Regions from separate parts of the Homo sapiens genome. Here region 2 is linked to region 1. The links are contacts of gene promoters, found by promoter capture Hi-C in human tissues and cell types (Jung and others, 2019). All regions are on one chromosome and are shown on one strand. The core of a region is centred on a gene start or on the middle of the fragment in contact, and the rest is flanking DNA. Distances in the headings are between cores, read along the strand shown.

Region 1 (5,912 bases), core at 2,168-4,667:
GCTAGTTTGTTGACCCAGTTTAAAAGACCATAAATACTTGAAAAATAATTCATTTTATTCTCACACATTTCTTAACTATTTACTGAGTGCCTACTATGTAAAAGACAATGCAAGAGCACATCAGGAATAACAAATGAAACACGGCTCCTACCCTCAAGGAGCGTAGACTTTCTTAAACGTTCTGTGGCATGTATTAGTTAAAAAGTATAGATATGAATAGCTTGATTTAGCCATTCCACACATATACATATATCAAAACATCACGTTATATACCATAAATATACACAAATTTTACTTGTCAATTAAAAATAAGCTTAAAAAACCTAAATTTAAATGTTTTTAAAAGGAAAAATGTATAGACTCCCAAAAAACCTGTTTATAAGTTTTAACTGCTGATATCTACCATATTAGAAACTAAAATTAAGAAATTTCTAGAGAATGAGAGTGAAAAAATAAAAAAAAGCCATTAGCATTATTATAGAAATGGTCTTGACATCATTGATCCCTTGAAAGGATCTCGGGGACCCCTCTGCCCAGTGGTTCCCAGACCACATTTCGAGAGCTGCTGGTCTCGTAGGATAAGACAGGTACATAAATCATCTTAATACACCAGAAGCACTTTTGATACACCTCTACTTAACTCACCTCTAGATTAACAAAGGCTCTCAACTGCCTGCTATTAAATATAGCGACAGATGCCCACAGTCACTATATACTAGTGGGTAATAGGTTAATCTCTAGTACTCCCACACACGTCTGCTCAAACGATGCTAGAACTTGTCTATATTAGTTTTAATAATTATGTAATCTGATTATATATTACAGAAGCCCATTAAATTGCAAGTATGAGGGGAGTTTGGGGGGTGTTTCTATAAAAACTATGTAGAATGCTTTGGTAAGATGATATAAAGTTAAGTTGTAACACAATACTGTCAAATTAGGTACAGGTGAGACAACTGGAGACTGAAAGGGAAGCACAGGAGTCTAGAAAGAGTCTGCATTTAGATAGTTTCACAGTGTCTAAGTTCTTGCTCCTTTTCAAAGAAACCAAAATCGAAAATCTAAACTAAATCATGGGGCCAGGTGCAGTGGCTCACGCCTGTAATCCCAGAACTTTGGGAAGCCGAGGAGGGCAGATCACTTGAGGCCAGGAGTTTGAGACTAGCCCAGGCAACACAAGGAAACCGTCTCTCTACTAAAAATCCAAAAAAAAAAAAAAAAGGTGGGCGTGGTGGTGCATGCCTGTAGTCCTAGCTATTTGGGAGGCTAAGGCATGAGAATTGTTTGAACTCTGTAGGTAGAGGTTGCAATGAGCTGAGATCACATCACTGCACTCCAGCCTGGGCGACAGAATGAGACTGAAAAACTAAATGATGGGTTTAATTTTTGAAAAACAAAGAAAACAGATGGTCAGTCAGTATCCTATATTCAAAGCAAAGGCCTTGTCTTACATATACATCAGCAACTAAATGTACATTTATTTTATTTTATTTTATTTCTGAGATGATGTCTCACTCTGTCACCCAGGCTGGAGTAGCTGGAGTACAGTGGTGCAATCTCAACTCACTGAAACCTCCGCCTCCCAGGTTCAAGCAATTCTCATGCCTCAGCCACCTGAGGTGCTGGGATTACAGGCGTGCGCCACCATGCCCAGCTAATTTTTGTATTTTTAGTACAGCCAGGGTTTCACCATGGTAACCAGGCAGGTCTTGAACCCCTGACCTCACGTGATCTGCCCACCTCGGCCTCCCAAAGTGCTGGGATTACAGGCGTGAGCCACCGTGCCCAGCCAACTAAACGTACATTTATAAGTTTTAAGATAAAATGTTTAAGGCAGATAGGAACTGCATATTGATATCATTTTTATGATTTCCCATCTTTTAATGTAACTGACCAATTACTGGTTATTCCATATGTGCTGTAGGATTCTTCTGTCAAGTTGAATATGTTAAAGGTCATAAAATAGAAACATACAAGAGTACTGGGATTAAACACACATGTACTTGCACACACACACACACCCACTCAGATGTCTAGCTAGAGATCAAGAAGAGTTTTTTGTTTTGTTTTGTTTTGAGATGGAGTCTCGCTCTGTTGCCTAGACTGGAGTGCAGTGGCGCGATCTTGGCTCACCGCAACCTCCGCCTCCTGGGTTCAAGCGATTCTCCTGCCTCTGCCTCCTGGGTAGCTGGGATTACAGGTATGTGCCACTGCGCCAGGCTAATTTTTGTATTTTTAGTGGAGATGGGGTTTTGCCATGTTGGCCAGGCTGGTCTTGAACTCCTGACCTCTGGTGATCCGCCCACCTCAGCCTCCCAAAGTGCTAGGATTACAGGTGTGAGCCACCACGCCAGGCCAAGAAGAGTTTTGAAGAATAAGCAATGATTGTGCTGGACCTTGAAAAATGGGTAGGATTTAGACTGGGGTGGGTGGGGGTAAGAAGGAAGAGTACTGAAGGTGGTAGGAATGGCCTCTGTGTGTCTGTGCTTGCTCGCTCTTGTGCTTGAAATGTTCAACTAAGGGGCTCACACCACCAATTACTAGAAGGACATGGTCTTGCCAGCACTCTGCAGAGAAGCCACACAAACTCATCCTACCAAAGGCTTTGGAATGGCTCAATTCATATCTTTTCCTTGGCCATTTGCTCTTCTTTGGATTCTGGGAAATAGTATGGGATTCTTTCTAAATTCTCCCCCGCACTCCTTTTTTGGCTAGATTGGTTTGTTGACTGGTTTCTGCTACTTGCAACCAAAAGAATCTTATTGAGTATGAACACACATCTTTGATGATGGTAATTTATGTATATCCCACCACCTAAAATCAGAAAAAACTCGAGAGAAAATTTTAAAGGTTATGTATATAAAGCACATCCTATAAAAAGAACTGAAGGCTTCTAGTTAAGATTCTGTCACTAAACAGCAGTGTTACTTTGGAGAAGTTATTTTACATCTCTGGGCCTCAGCATCCATAATAATGATATTACTAGAATGTCTGAGATCTCTTCTAGGTCTCTTTCACTAAATAAAAATGCTAGCCTTCCTCTCCAACTGGGGATGTTTTATTATTTCATTAGTGTTATTTTGTTTGCTCTAGTACTTTCCAAAAGACCTAGATATAATTAAATTTTCTTTGAATAGAAAGAGAATAACAAAATGTTAAGAAGCTGCCCAAGGCTTGAAAATATTTAAATTTGTGCTCTATGCTGGATTATCCTGCCCTATATCTGAACTTGACATACACTCTATGTCAAAGAACTGAGGAGAAATGATACTGGCACTTTTTTTAAAAAGTTAAGGGCATCCCTAGTTTGAAGAAGTTAAAGGAATAAGCAAGCAGCAACACTGCTTATTAGCATTGGCATGTAAGTAATGAAATCAAGTATGTTAGGAAGTCTTAGGCATCAGGAAGTTACACTCATTCATTTCCACAAGACCTTCTGGATCCAGCTGAATGTGGAGGCCTTTAAGAGAACTTCCAGCTCCTGTAAAAACCCAGACCAGAGGACTACTGACCAACATTTCAGGCTGATCCTCCAGACCTCGAAGTTACTCTCCTTACTCTCCTGACTCTTAATTACATCACACCTGTGTCGACACTCTCTGGGAAAAGACTGAAGAAATAATCTTTTCAAGAAGCAGGTACATTTAAAAGGCAAACCATTTTTAATATTCCTAGTAGTCTCCTTTCTTCTCATTTAAAATATGTTCCTAGAAGTTTTTTTGCCTGTGGTTCTGAGTTGAGGTCTACTAATAAAAGGTACTAGCATCTTAACAAACCAGTTAGGCAAACTTTCTATCCCTGTATTATTAAAAAGCTGCTCTTTACTTGTGAAGTAATATTCTGATCTCTATTTGATCTTCAGGAATTTTGCCACGCATGGTGGCTCACATCTGTAATCCCAACACTTTGGGAGGCTGAGGCAGCAGCATAGCTTGAGCCCAGCCTGGGCAACAAAGTGAGACCCAGTCTCCACAAAAAGATAAAAAAGTTAGCCAGGTATGGTGGGGTATGCCTGTGGCCCCAACTATACGGGAGTTTCCTAAGGCAGGAAGATCACCTGAGCCCAGGAGGTTGAGGTTGCAATACACTCCAGCCTGGGTGACAGAGCAAGACCCTGTATCAAAAAATAAAATTTAATTTTATAAAAGTTATAAAATAATTTGCCTAATTTTAACATCAAGCAGCCACATTGTTTTGTCTCTCCCTCTCTCTCTCATCTCCCTGCAAAATTCTTTCCCTCCTCCCTGTCTGTTAATTTTACTTTCTTGTGATACGGAGGGAATAGCTCACAGAGCTGCTCAAATATTTCATCAACTATAAGATGCTATCATTTGTAATAGCAACCATTATTTTACGTGCCACCAAGACAAAATACTGCTGCTAAACTTTGACAAGCTAACGATATTAAGATGTACCTCAGTTATAGAAATGGTAAATATGAAAAAAATGTGTGATATGATAGAGTTCTCCATCCCTAGTTTATAACTCCTCCCTACTCTGTAAGAAACCACATTTGCTCCCTTGAGCCATCACATCCTGTTCTCCTGTTCAGATCCTCTTCTCTCTTCTCCACACCACCTCATCACTGAAGACACAAGCAGATGTTAAGTGATGAGAAAATCAGAAGGAACAGTGGCAGGCGCTAGTATACGGTAACAGAGACCCTCTTTAGTCATTTACTTCCTAACTGTACTACCTTTACAAGAGTTTTCAAAGTTATGCCCTTCATTTTGAGATTGTAGATAATGGTTATTAGCTTAAAATATCTTCTTCCCAAAGAGAAAGTAAAATTGCATTTTGCCAAATAGCACTATAAAAATGAGTTCTGTACAATATTATAATTTTAATGTTCATTTGATGGCTTACATAAGTGCTATGCTCATCTGGTTACAATAGAATTTTCCAGTAAATAATAACGCACAGGTTATATTTCAAAAAAAAACTTCATTTTTAAAAAACTTAAGGTATGACTTCTGCTTACAAAATTATAAAACACAGGTTTCCCTGAAATACTCATTTTCCAAAGTACATGTAAAACATGAATTAATATGACTTATAAATTGTCAAGATTGCCTCTGTAGTGAAAATCAAAGAAATGTGGAATGGAATTTCACCTGAACTTCTGAGCTAGTCTGTTGTCTTTATTTGTGCTCCTTTTGACACATAGTGCCTTATGTTTTTCTATACTCCTCAAATGAAGCTAAAACATTTACCAATGTAGGCAATTTTCCTGGGCTTCCTTGAAGACGCAGTTCAACACTGCAAAATATTTACAGCTGTATTCTTTGGACTGCAATGACATGTTCACACGACCTTGTGGCCAGAGGTTACGTCCTATTAGTCCTAGGAAGGTTCAAGTACTTGGCACAGTTTGTGAGATGCTGTGGTCAATCAGTTACATAAAGTGGCTGCCATAGTACTTTTGTTAGTGTAATACCAGTAGCAGACAACATTTAGAGCAGATAAATTTTATATTTCAAAATAGAACTAAAATTTGGACACTCAAAAAGAATTACATTAACATGGGAAAATCCTTGATTCTTAAAACATGTCAATAATTAGACAGTGTAATTTTTATTTTTAACACACAAAAGAAGCCAACACAAAATATTCATACCTCAATATCAAAATGAATGTTTCTTACATTCAGTGCTATTGACAAGAGGCAATGAAGCAAGTACATGTTAAAAAAAAAGAAACTCAGCTTGTGAAAGGCAGAGGAAGGTCAAAACACAGATCAATAAACAAAAAAACAAAAAAAAAATGTGGGCAAGTCCAAGGCAGAGATATACTGTCAGATTTAAGTAAAAAGTTGACAGCAGCTTCTCTAGCTTTTACTTTCTTTCTAAGGTAATGGGAATGAAATCCTTTTAAAAGACAAGCAGAGAAGCATGCAGCTGACAACAACCAAG
Region 2 (6,290 bases), core at 512-3,011, 60 kb after region 1:
TTGCTCCTTATTTGTCTCTGATATTGGCATAGGTAAAAACCACTAGATTCCCTTTTAAGAAATTCTGAGGGCCAGACGTGGTGGCTCACGCCTGTAATCCTAGCACTTTGGGAGGCCAAGGCAGGCAGATCACTTGAGGTCAGGAGTTCAAGACCAGCCTGGCCAACATGGTGAAACCCTGTCTCTACTAAAAATAAAAAAAATTAGCTGGGCATGGTGGCAGGCGCCTATAATCCCAGCTACTCAGGAGGCTGAGGCACGAGAATTGCTTGAACTCAGGAGGCGGAGGTTGCAGTGAGCCGAGATCACGCCACTGCGCTCCAGCCTGGGCAACAGAGCCAGACTCCATCTCAAAAACAAAATGGTGGGCTTACTTTTTCTTCAACTGTGGTTGAGGAAACTGATTTGAATAAAATAATTTCAACTCACTTCTACTGAGGTTTTACTTTCAAAAGAATTCAAGACTAAAGTGAGAAAAACAAGGAATGTAAGTACTGGCCATGTACTCTAGGGAAGAGATCAAGATGCAACAAAGTAAACCAAAGCCTCAGAACTACATACAAGAGAGAACAACAAGGAAAGCAAAATCAGACTTCTGTGCTATGTTCTGAAGTTAGCAAAACTAAGCCTAAAGGGGTTAGAAAAATACCTTGCTCTGGTTAGTGGATTTAAAACATAACAATGTTTTAAAACTTTGTCCGTATTAAACACCCAAAATGATTTGTATGGAGAGTAATCTGGAGGCTTACATACCAAGCAGTTACCCATGGCCACCTCTAAAGCATGTGAATGGGGAAAACAGAGACCTTTTCATTTTGTAAAAATTTTAAAGGAAAAAAAACAAGAAAGTAGGTATTACTTATACACTAAAACACACACACACAGTATTTGTAAGGAACTTTGGTTGGATCCCTAGAGAAATCAAACAATGCCAGCTCATAAATCAGCCTAGTAATGCATAGAATAACTACCCACCGTCTTCACCCCTACCCCTACACACACATCTGCTAACACTTAGGACAACTATATTATCAAAACCAGGACACCCTGGAGAGTGGAAAAGGGGGCACTATTAATAATTGCATAGGGAAACACATAAACTGGGAGGGTTCCAGGCAAACCTGGAGGTTTAGCCACCCTATGTGGATTAGCAACTATGTGGACCATCTGCTTTAAACTAAGAAAGAAAAAGACCTTGAGATTTTCTACCAAGCAAGGATTCATAAGGAAAAATTGCAGCATGCCCATTATTGCTTATTTAGCATGCTATCTTTAATATTTTACTTTAGTGATCAAAGTGGTACTTGAGATTTACATGGGTTTCTCTCAGCCTTGTTTCCTTTCACTCTTTTTCCTGTAATATTTTCCCCCTCCTCCCAAAAAGAGATACTATATTTCTGAACCAGGTATTTTCTTTACATAGAGGTTTTCAGGAATGTATTATTCATGGGACATGAATATTACATGGAAGGAGAACATTTGAGTTTACAAATATTTTAACAAATGCTAAGCTATTTAATGTTTTATAAACATCCTATGGGTTGGGAAGGCATTATTATCCACATTTTACAAACAAGAAGTGTAAGGCCCAAAGCCAAACAACTATCAACAGCCATTCAGGACTAGAAGCCAGGTCTTGAGCTGTATTGTGAAGGCACTCCACAATACCATGAGGTTCATCATCTAAGTACTCTCTCCTTTAGCCTGCCTTTCTTCAGTGACATACATTCCTGAGATTTTATCTTGGTTGTGGCTCCCATTTCAGTAAAACCTAATATAAAAAACTCTGAAGTTCATTACAGAACAGTAGCTAATTATGTACATTACAAAGAACTTCACATTGAGGGAAAAAAAACCTGTACATTTCAATATTATTTTTCTCTTTCAATAAAAGTATGACAACTCATAAAAATGTGACACATCTACAACTTTCCAGGAATATGTTCATCTTATAAACTTAAATATACAAATAAATAACTATTTCCATATTATCTTAATGGATTCATATAAAAGCCCTGCAAAAAGGCAACTTTTAGGATAAGAAATCTAAAGTCAGAAGATTCAGTGACTTGTACAAAGTCTCACTCATAGTAAATGATTGAGTTAGAACTAGGACATGCTGGAGTTTTCTGACCAATAAAAGGCCAGAATACAAGCCTGACTCCACTATGAACATATACTCAATCATTCCTTGAGAAAACGAGATATTACAGTTGGCCCCCTATATCTGAGTGGTCAATATTCGTGGAGTCAACCAACTGCAGACTGAAAATATTTTAAACATCGGCTGGGCATGGTGGTTCATGCCTGTAACACCCACACTTTAGGGGCTGAGGAGGGAGGATCCCTTAAGCCCAGGAGTTTGAGACCAACCAAGGCAACACAGGGAGACTCTGCCTCTACGAGAAAAAAAAAAAAAAAATTAGCTGGGCATGGCAGTGCTTGCCTGTAGTCCTGGGAACAGAGTGAGACCCTGTTTCAAAAAAAAGAGAAAAACAAATAGTAACAACTATTTACATAGTTTTTACACTGTATTAGTTATAAGTAATCTAGAGATGCTTTAAAGTATACAGAAGGATGTGTGTAGGTTATACGTAAATACTGTGCCATTTTATATAAAGGACTTGAGCATGGTAGATTTTGGTATGGGAGATGGGGCATGCCAGACACCAATCTCCTGCAGGTACTGAGGGACAACTGTACTTGTCCCCACCTAACTTTAGAACACAGTGTCTACTATGCCAAGCATTGTTCTAGACAATGGAGATATAGTAATCATCAAGACAAAAATCCTGACCTGGTAGAGTTTATACTTTAGTAGGCGATATGAACAACACATAAACAAATATACAGTATGTCAGATGGGTATAGTAGAAGGAGAATAAATAACAACACAAAAGAACAGTGAATAATAAGAGGGTAAGGGAGATAGAGCCTGCAGGGTGCTATTTTACATATGGTGGCCAGAAAATACCTCAATGAGCTGAAATTGTGAACAGAGACCGAAAAGAAATGTGGGAGTAAGGCATGGGGATTATCTAAAGGAAGAGTGTTACAGAGAGAAAAAACAGAAGAATAGCAATTATTAAGTTTGAGATGCTTCTGAAACATCCGAGGACATCCGAGGACACAGTCCAAACATCAACAACACAGTCAGAATTACGAGCGTGGACAGAGAGAGAGGTGTGTAAATACATTTTTTGATTTTTACTTATTTTCAGTTGAAATGAACATTTATTGAGCCCATATTAAATGAGACACAGCTAAGAAATGCCCCTGCCCCATCCATGCACAATTCACATCACCCAACCCAGGATCAATGTCTTGCTGTTTCTCCTCAGCTGGGTACATCCTACATTTCACTAGTTTTCTACCATTATGCAATCTCCTATAGTGGAGTAACAGGCTTGTCTTAAAGCTCAGAATCTTCTTAGAAAGTAGTGGATAACAGTCATAGTCACAGCTAACTAAAAATTTGCTTTAACATGCGCTGAGATGGACTCATTGCTTCCTGTGAATCTGCTAAGCTTGTCTGTCACTCTAATGATGGGCTCTTTGGAATAAACAGCATTCATAATAATCTTCACTCGCGGCCGGGCACAGTGGCTACCGCCTGTAATCCCAGCACTTTAGGAGGCCAAAGCAGGTGGCTCACTTGAGGTCAGGAGTTCAAGACCAGCTTGGCCAACATGGCGAAACCCCGTCTCTACTAAAAATACAAAAATTAGTCAGGTATGCTGGCGCACATCTATAAGCCCAGCTACTCAGGAAGCTAAGGCAGGAGAATCGCTTGAACCCGGGAGGCAGAGGATACAGTGAGCTGAGATCACGCCACAGCACTCCAGCAAGGGCAACAGAGTGAGACATTGTCTCGAAAAATAATAATAATACTGATCTTCACTCACATCATAATCGTCACTCACAAGTTCTCTGAAATGGATTATAATCAGCTGTGGCCTCAGCAGCTTCTTCCACAAAGCTAGAGTTGGCTGACTCCACATCAGTAAAGAATTCCAGAGCCTGCGTGTTCTGTGGTTGGCTCTAGGTCCGTGGTCAAGTCTAGGTTAATGGTTAAATCTTGGTCTGTGGTTAACTCTAGATCAGCGGTCAATTCTAGTAGGTCAGTGGTTGATTCTGGGAGTAGTGTGGAGAAAGTCACAGCCAGGGCATGGAACACAAAGAAAATAAGGACCTTCCTGAGCACGGTGCCTCCACGGAGGGCAGAAGCATCCTGAACTGTATATTTAAATACCACCTGGTACTTAAAGCCATGAGACCAAATGAGAACACCCAGGAAGTGAAAAGAGAGAAAAGGAAAGAACTAAGGACTGAGTCCTGGGGTCACATAACATTTAGAGACAGAAGATGAGAAGGGGCTTAGCAAGAAACTAAGAAGGAACAGCCAATGAGGCGAGAGGAGAAGAGATGTGTCCTAGAGTAAAGTGGGGAAAAAAAAGTCTCAGGAAAAAAGTGATCAACTATGTCAAATTCCACCGAAGTTCAAGTAAGAGAGCTGCTAGTTGACTCTTGGATTTAGGAATGTGGACGTGGCCGATTATGAAAAGGAACATGTGCTCGCCTCAGCAGCATATACTAAAATTGGAACAATACAGAGAAGATGAGCATGGCCCCTGCACAAGGATGACATGCGAATTAGGAAGTATTCCATATTTTGAAATAAATAAATAAATAAATAAGGAACACAAGTTTTTTTTGCAGCAGCTTCCATCAAAAGGTGGAGTCTGTTTTCCCATAACTGAATCTGGGCTTGGCCATGTGAGCTGCTTTGGTCAAAAGGACTTTAGCAAATGTGACACAAGCACAGGCTTTCAAAGTGCTTGTGCACTGGGGCTTCCTCTTTTCCTACTAGAACTCTTTCACCATCATGTGAATGAGCTTGCTAGAGATGAAATAAATAGCTGTTGCCCCTGCTAATGTCAACTCAACCACCACATACAAGTGAGGACATCCTTGCCAGGAAGGCCGCCCAGGCCAGCCCCAACCAGAATTGATCCATAGAATTATCAGCAAATAAAATGGCTTTTGTTCTAAGCCACTAAGTTTTGGGATGGTTTGTTATGAAGCAAAAGCTAATTGATAAAGAGGAAGATACCAGTAACAGACAAGAGCTGTTTCAATGGAATCATGGACATACGAATCTGAATGGAGTTGGTTAAGAATGAATGGATAGAAAGAATGGAACACAAGGCCTCCAGCTGACACTAGCTGAGCTTTAGAGGCTTTCCTTTCTAACAAGGCCATTTCCTCAACCAGAAAACTATATTGTTACACTGTTTTCTAGATACTCCCCACCCACTTCCAAAGCCCCTATAAGTAGGCCCAGTGGTACAGTGGCAAAGTCCTGCTGCAAGTACTTTCCTTGGTGCATCCAGTTATACCCAGCCTAAGCAAACCTGCTCAAGGAGGCAGACAGGATGGAGGGGTGAAAGAACTACATAATCTGCTGCTTCACCGCCATTAAGGTAAACCAATAAACTTGATATTATATTTATACCACCAGTCACTAGGAGTGTGGGTGTGGGGATATGTGTGTATGTGCAAGGATGTCTCCTTACAGGGCACCTAACCATCTCCTGACAAGCCTTGACATGCTCATTACTTGTCATTTTCCAAGTAAACTCTGATCAGAAATTATAATCACTTTTAAAAGCACTTATAAAAATTTCAAAAATAGCTTTTTAAAATGTCAAGAATATGTAAATAACTTACTTGGCAATCCGCAGTTTCCCAACTTCACCTCTTCCAGAGGCTTTAGCCCATTGCTGTGACAAATATTTAGGAACCTAAAACAAAGTAAAACACTAATAAGTCTATTTTAGATGCTAACATCTTTTCAAACATAAAATGATATATTGCTTCTATTTTTATTTTCTGCCTCTAATAAGGGATCATTATCAAGTTACTACTGTATGTTTTACACTATATAAAATACTAAGACACGTAAAAAATGATTTTAGCTCTCAAAGAACTTAATCGAGGTGGCAACACAAAACTAACATAGGTCAAATAACCTAACAATAATAAAGCACCAACTTATCTTCCCAAATAAGTCCAATTAAAGGTCACAGAAGAGAAAGGCTATCAGAAAAGGCTTCTCAGAAGAGAACAGCACTCACTATAGTAACAGCATTATTTAGAAACACCACTGGGCTTACGATTATTTCAAAAGTCAAGTTTTATTATGTAGAAAATTGTAACTTTGACTACTGTGAAGAAGAGGCTGCTAATATAAAAGGATTATTAAACAGCATAGCTAACATTTATATAAT

What was found. The method cuts DNA at HindIII sites, captures the fragments that hold promoters and counts their contacts. A contact is called where the count stands out against the background at its distance.
Region 2: a contact is called between a fragment that was not itself captured here and the fragment with the promoter of KCTD4 in region 1, in 3 of the 25 tissues and cell types used here (IMR-90 fibroblasts, adrenal gland and lymphoblastoid cells).

What each region holds. Positions count from the first base shown.
Region 1 is chr13:45,198,550-45,204,461 of GRCh38, reverse strand. It overlaps KCTD4 (potassium channel tetramerization domain containing 4), which reads left to right and starts at 3,417. Exons shown (of 2, transcript NM_198404.3): 1 at 3,417-3,638. All of the region lies in intron 4 of GTF2F2 (general transcription factor IIF subunit 2), which reads right to left. The HindIII fragment of the contact is 9,631 bases long and covers 1-5,912 here.
Region 2 is chr13:45,136,247-45,142,536 of GRCh38, reverse strand. GTF2F2 (general transcription factor IIF subunit 2) reads right to left here. Exons shown (of 8, transcript NM_004128.3): 2 at 5,731-5,804. It also overlaps the pseudogene RNU6-69P. Among named protein-coding and RNA genes, the nearest start is that of GTF2F2, 19 kb to the right of the region's middle. The HindIII fragment of the contact is 7,918 bases long and covers 1-5,720 here.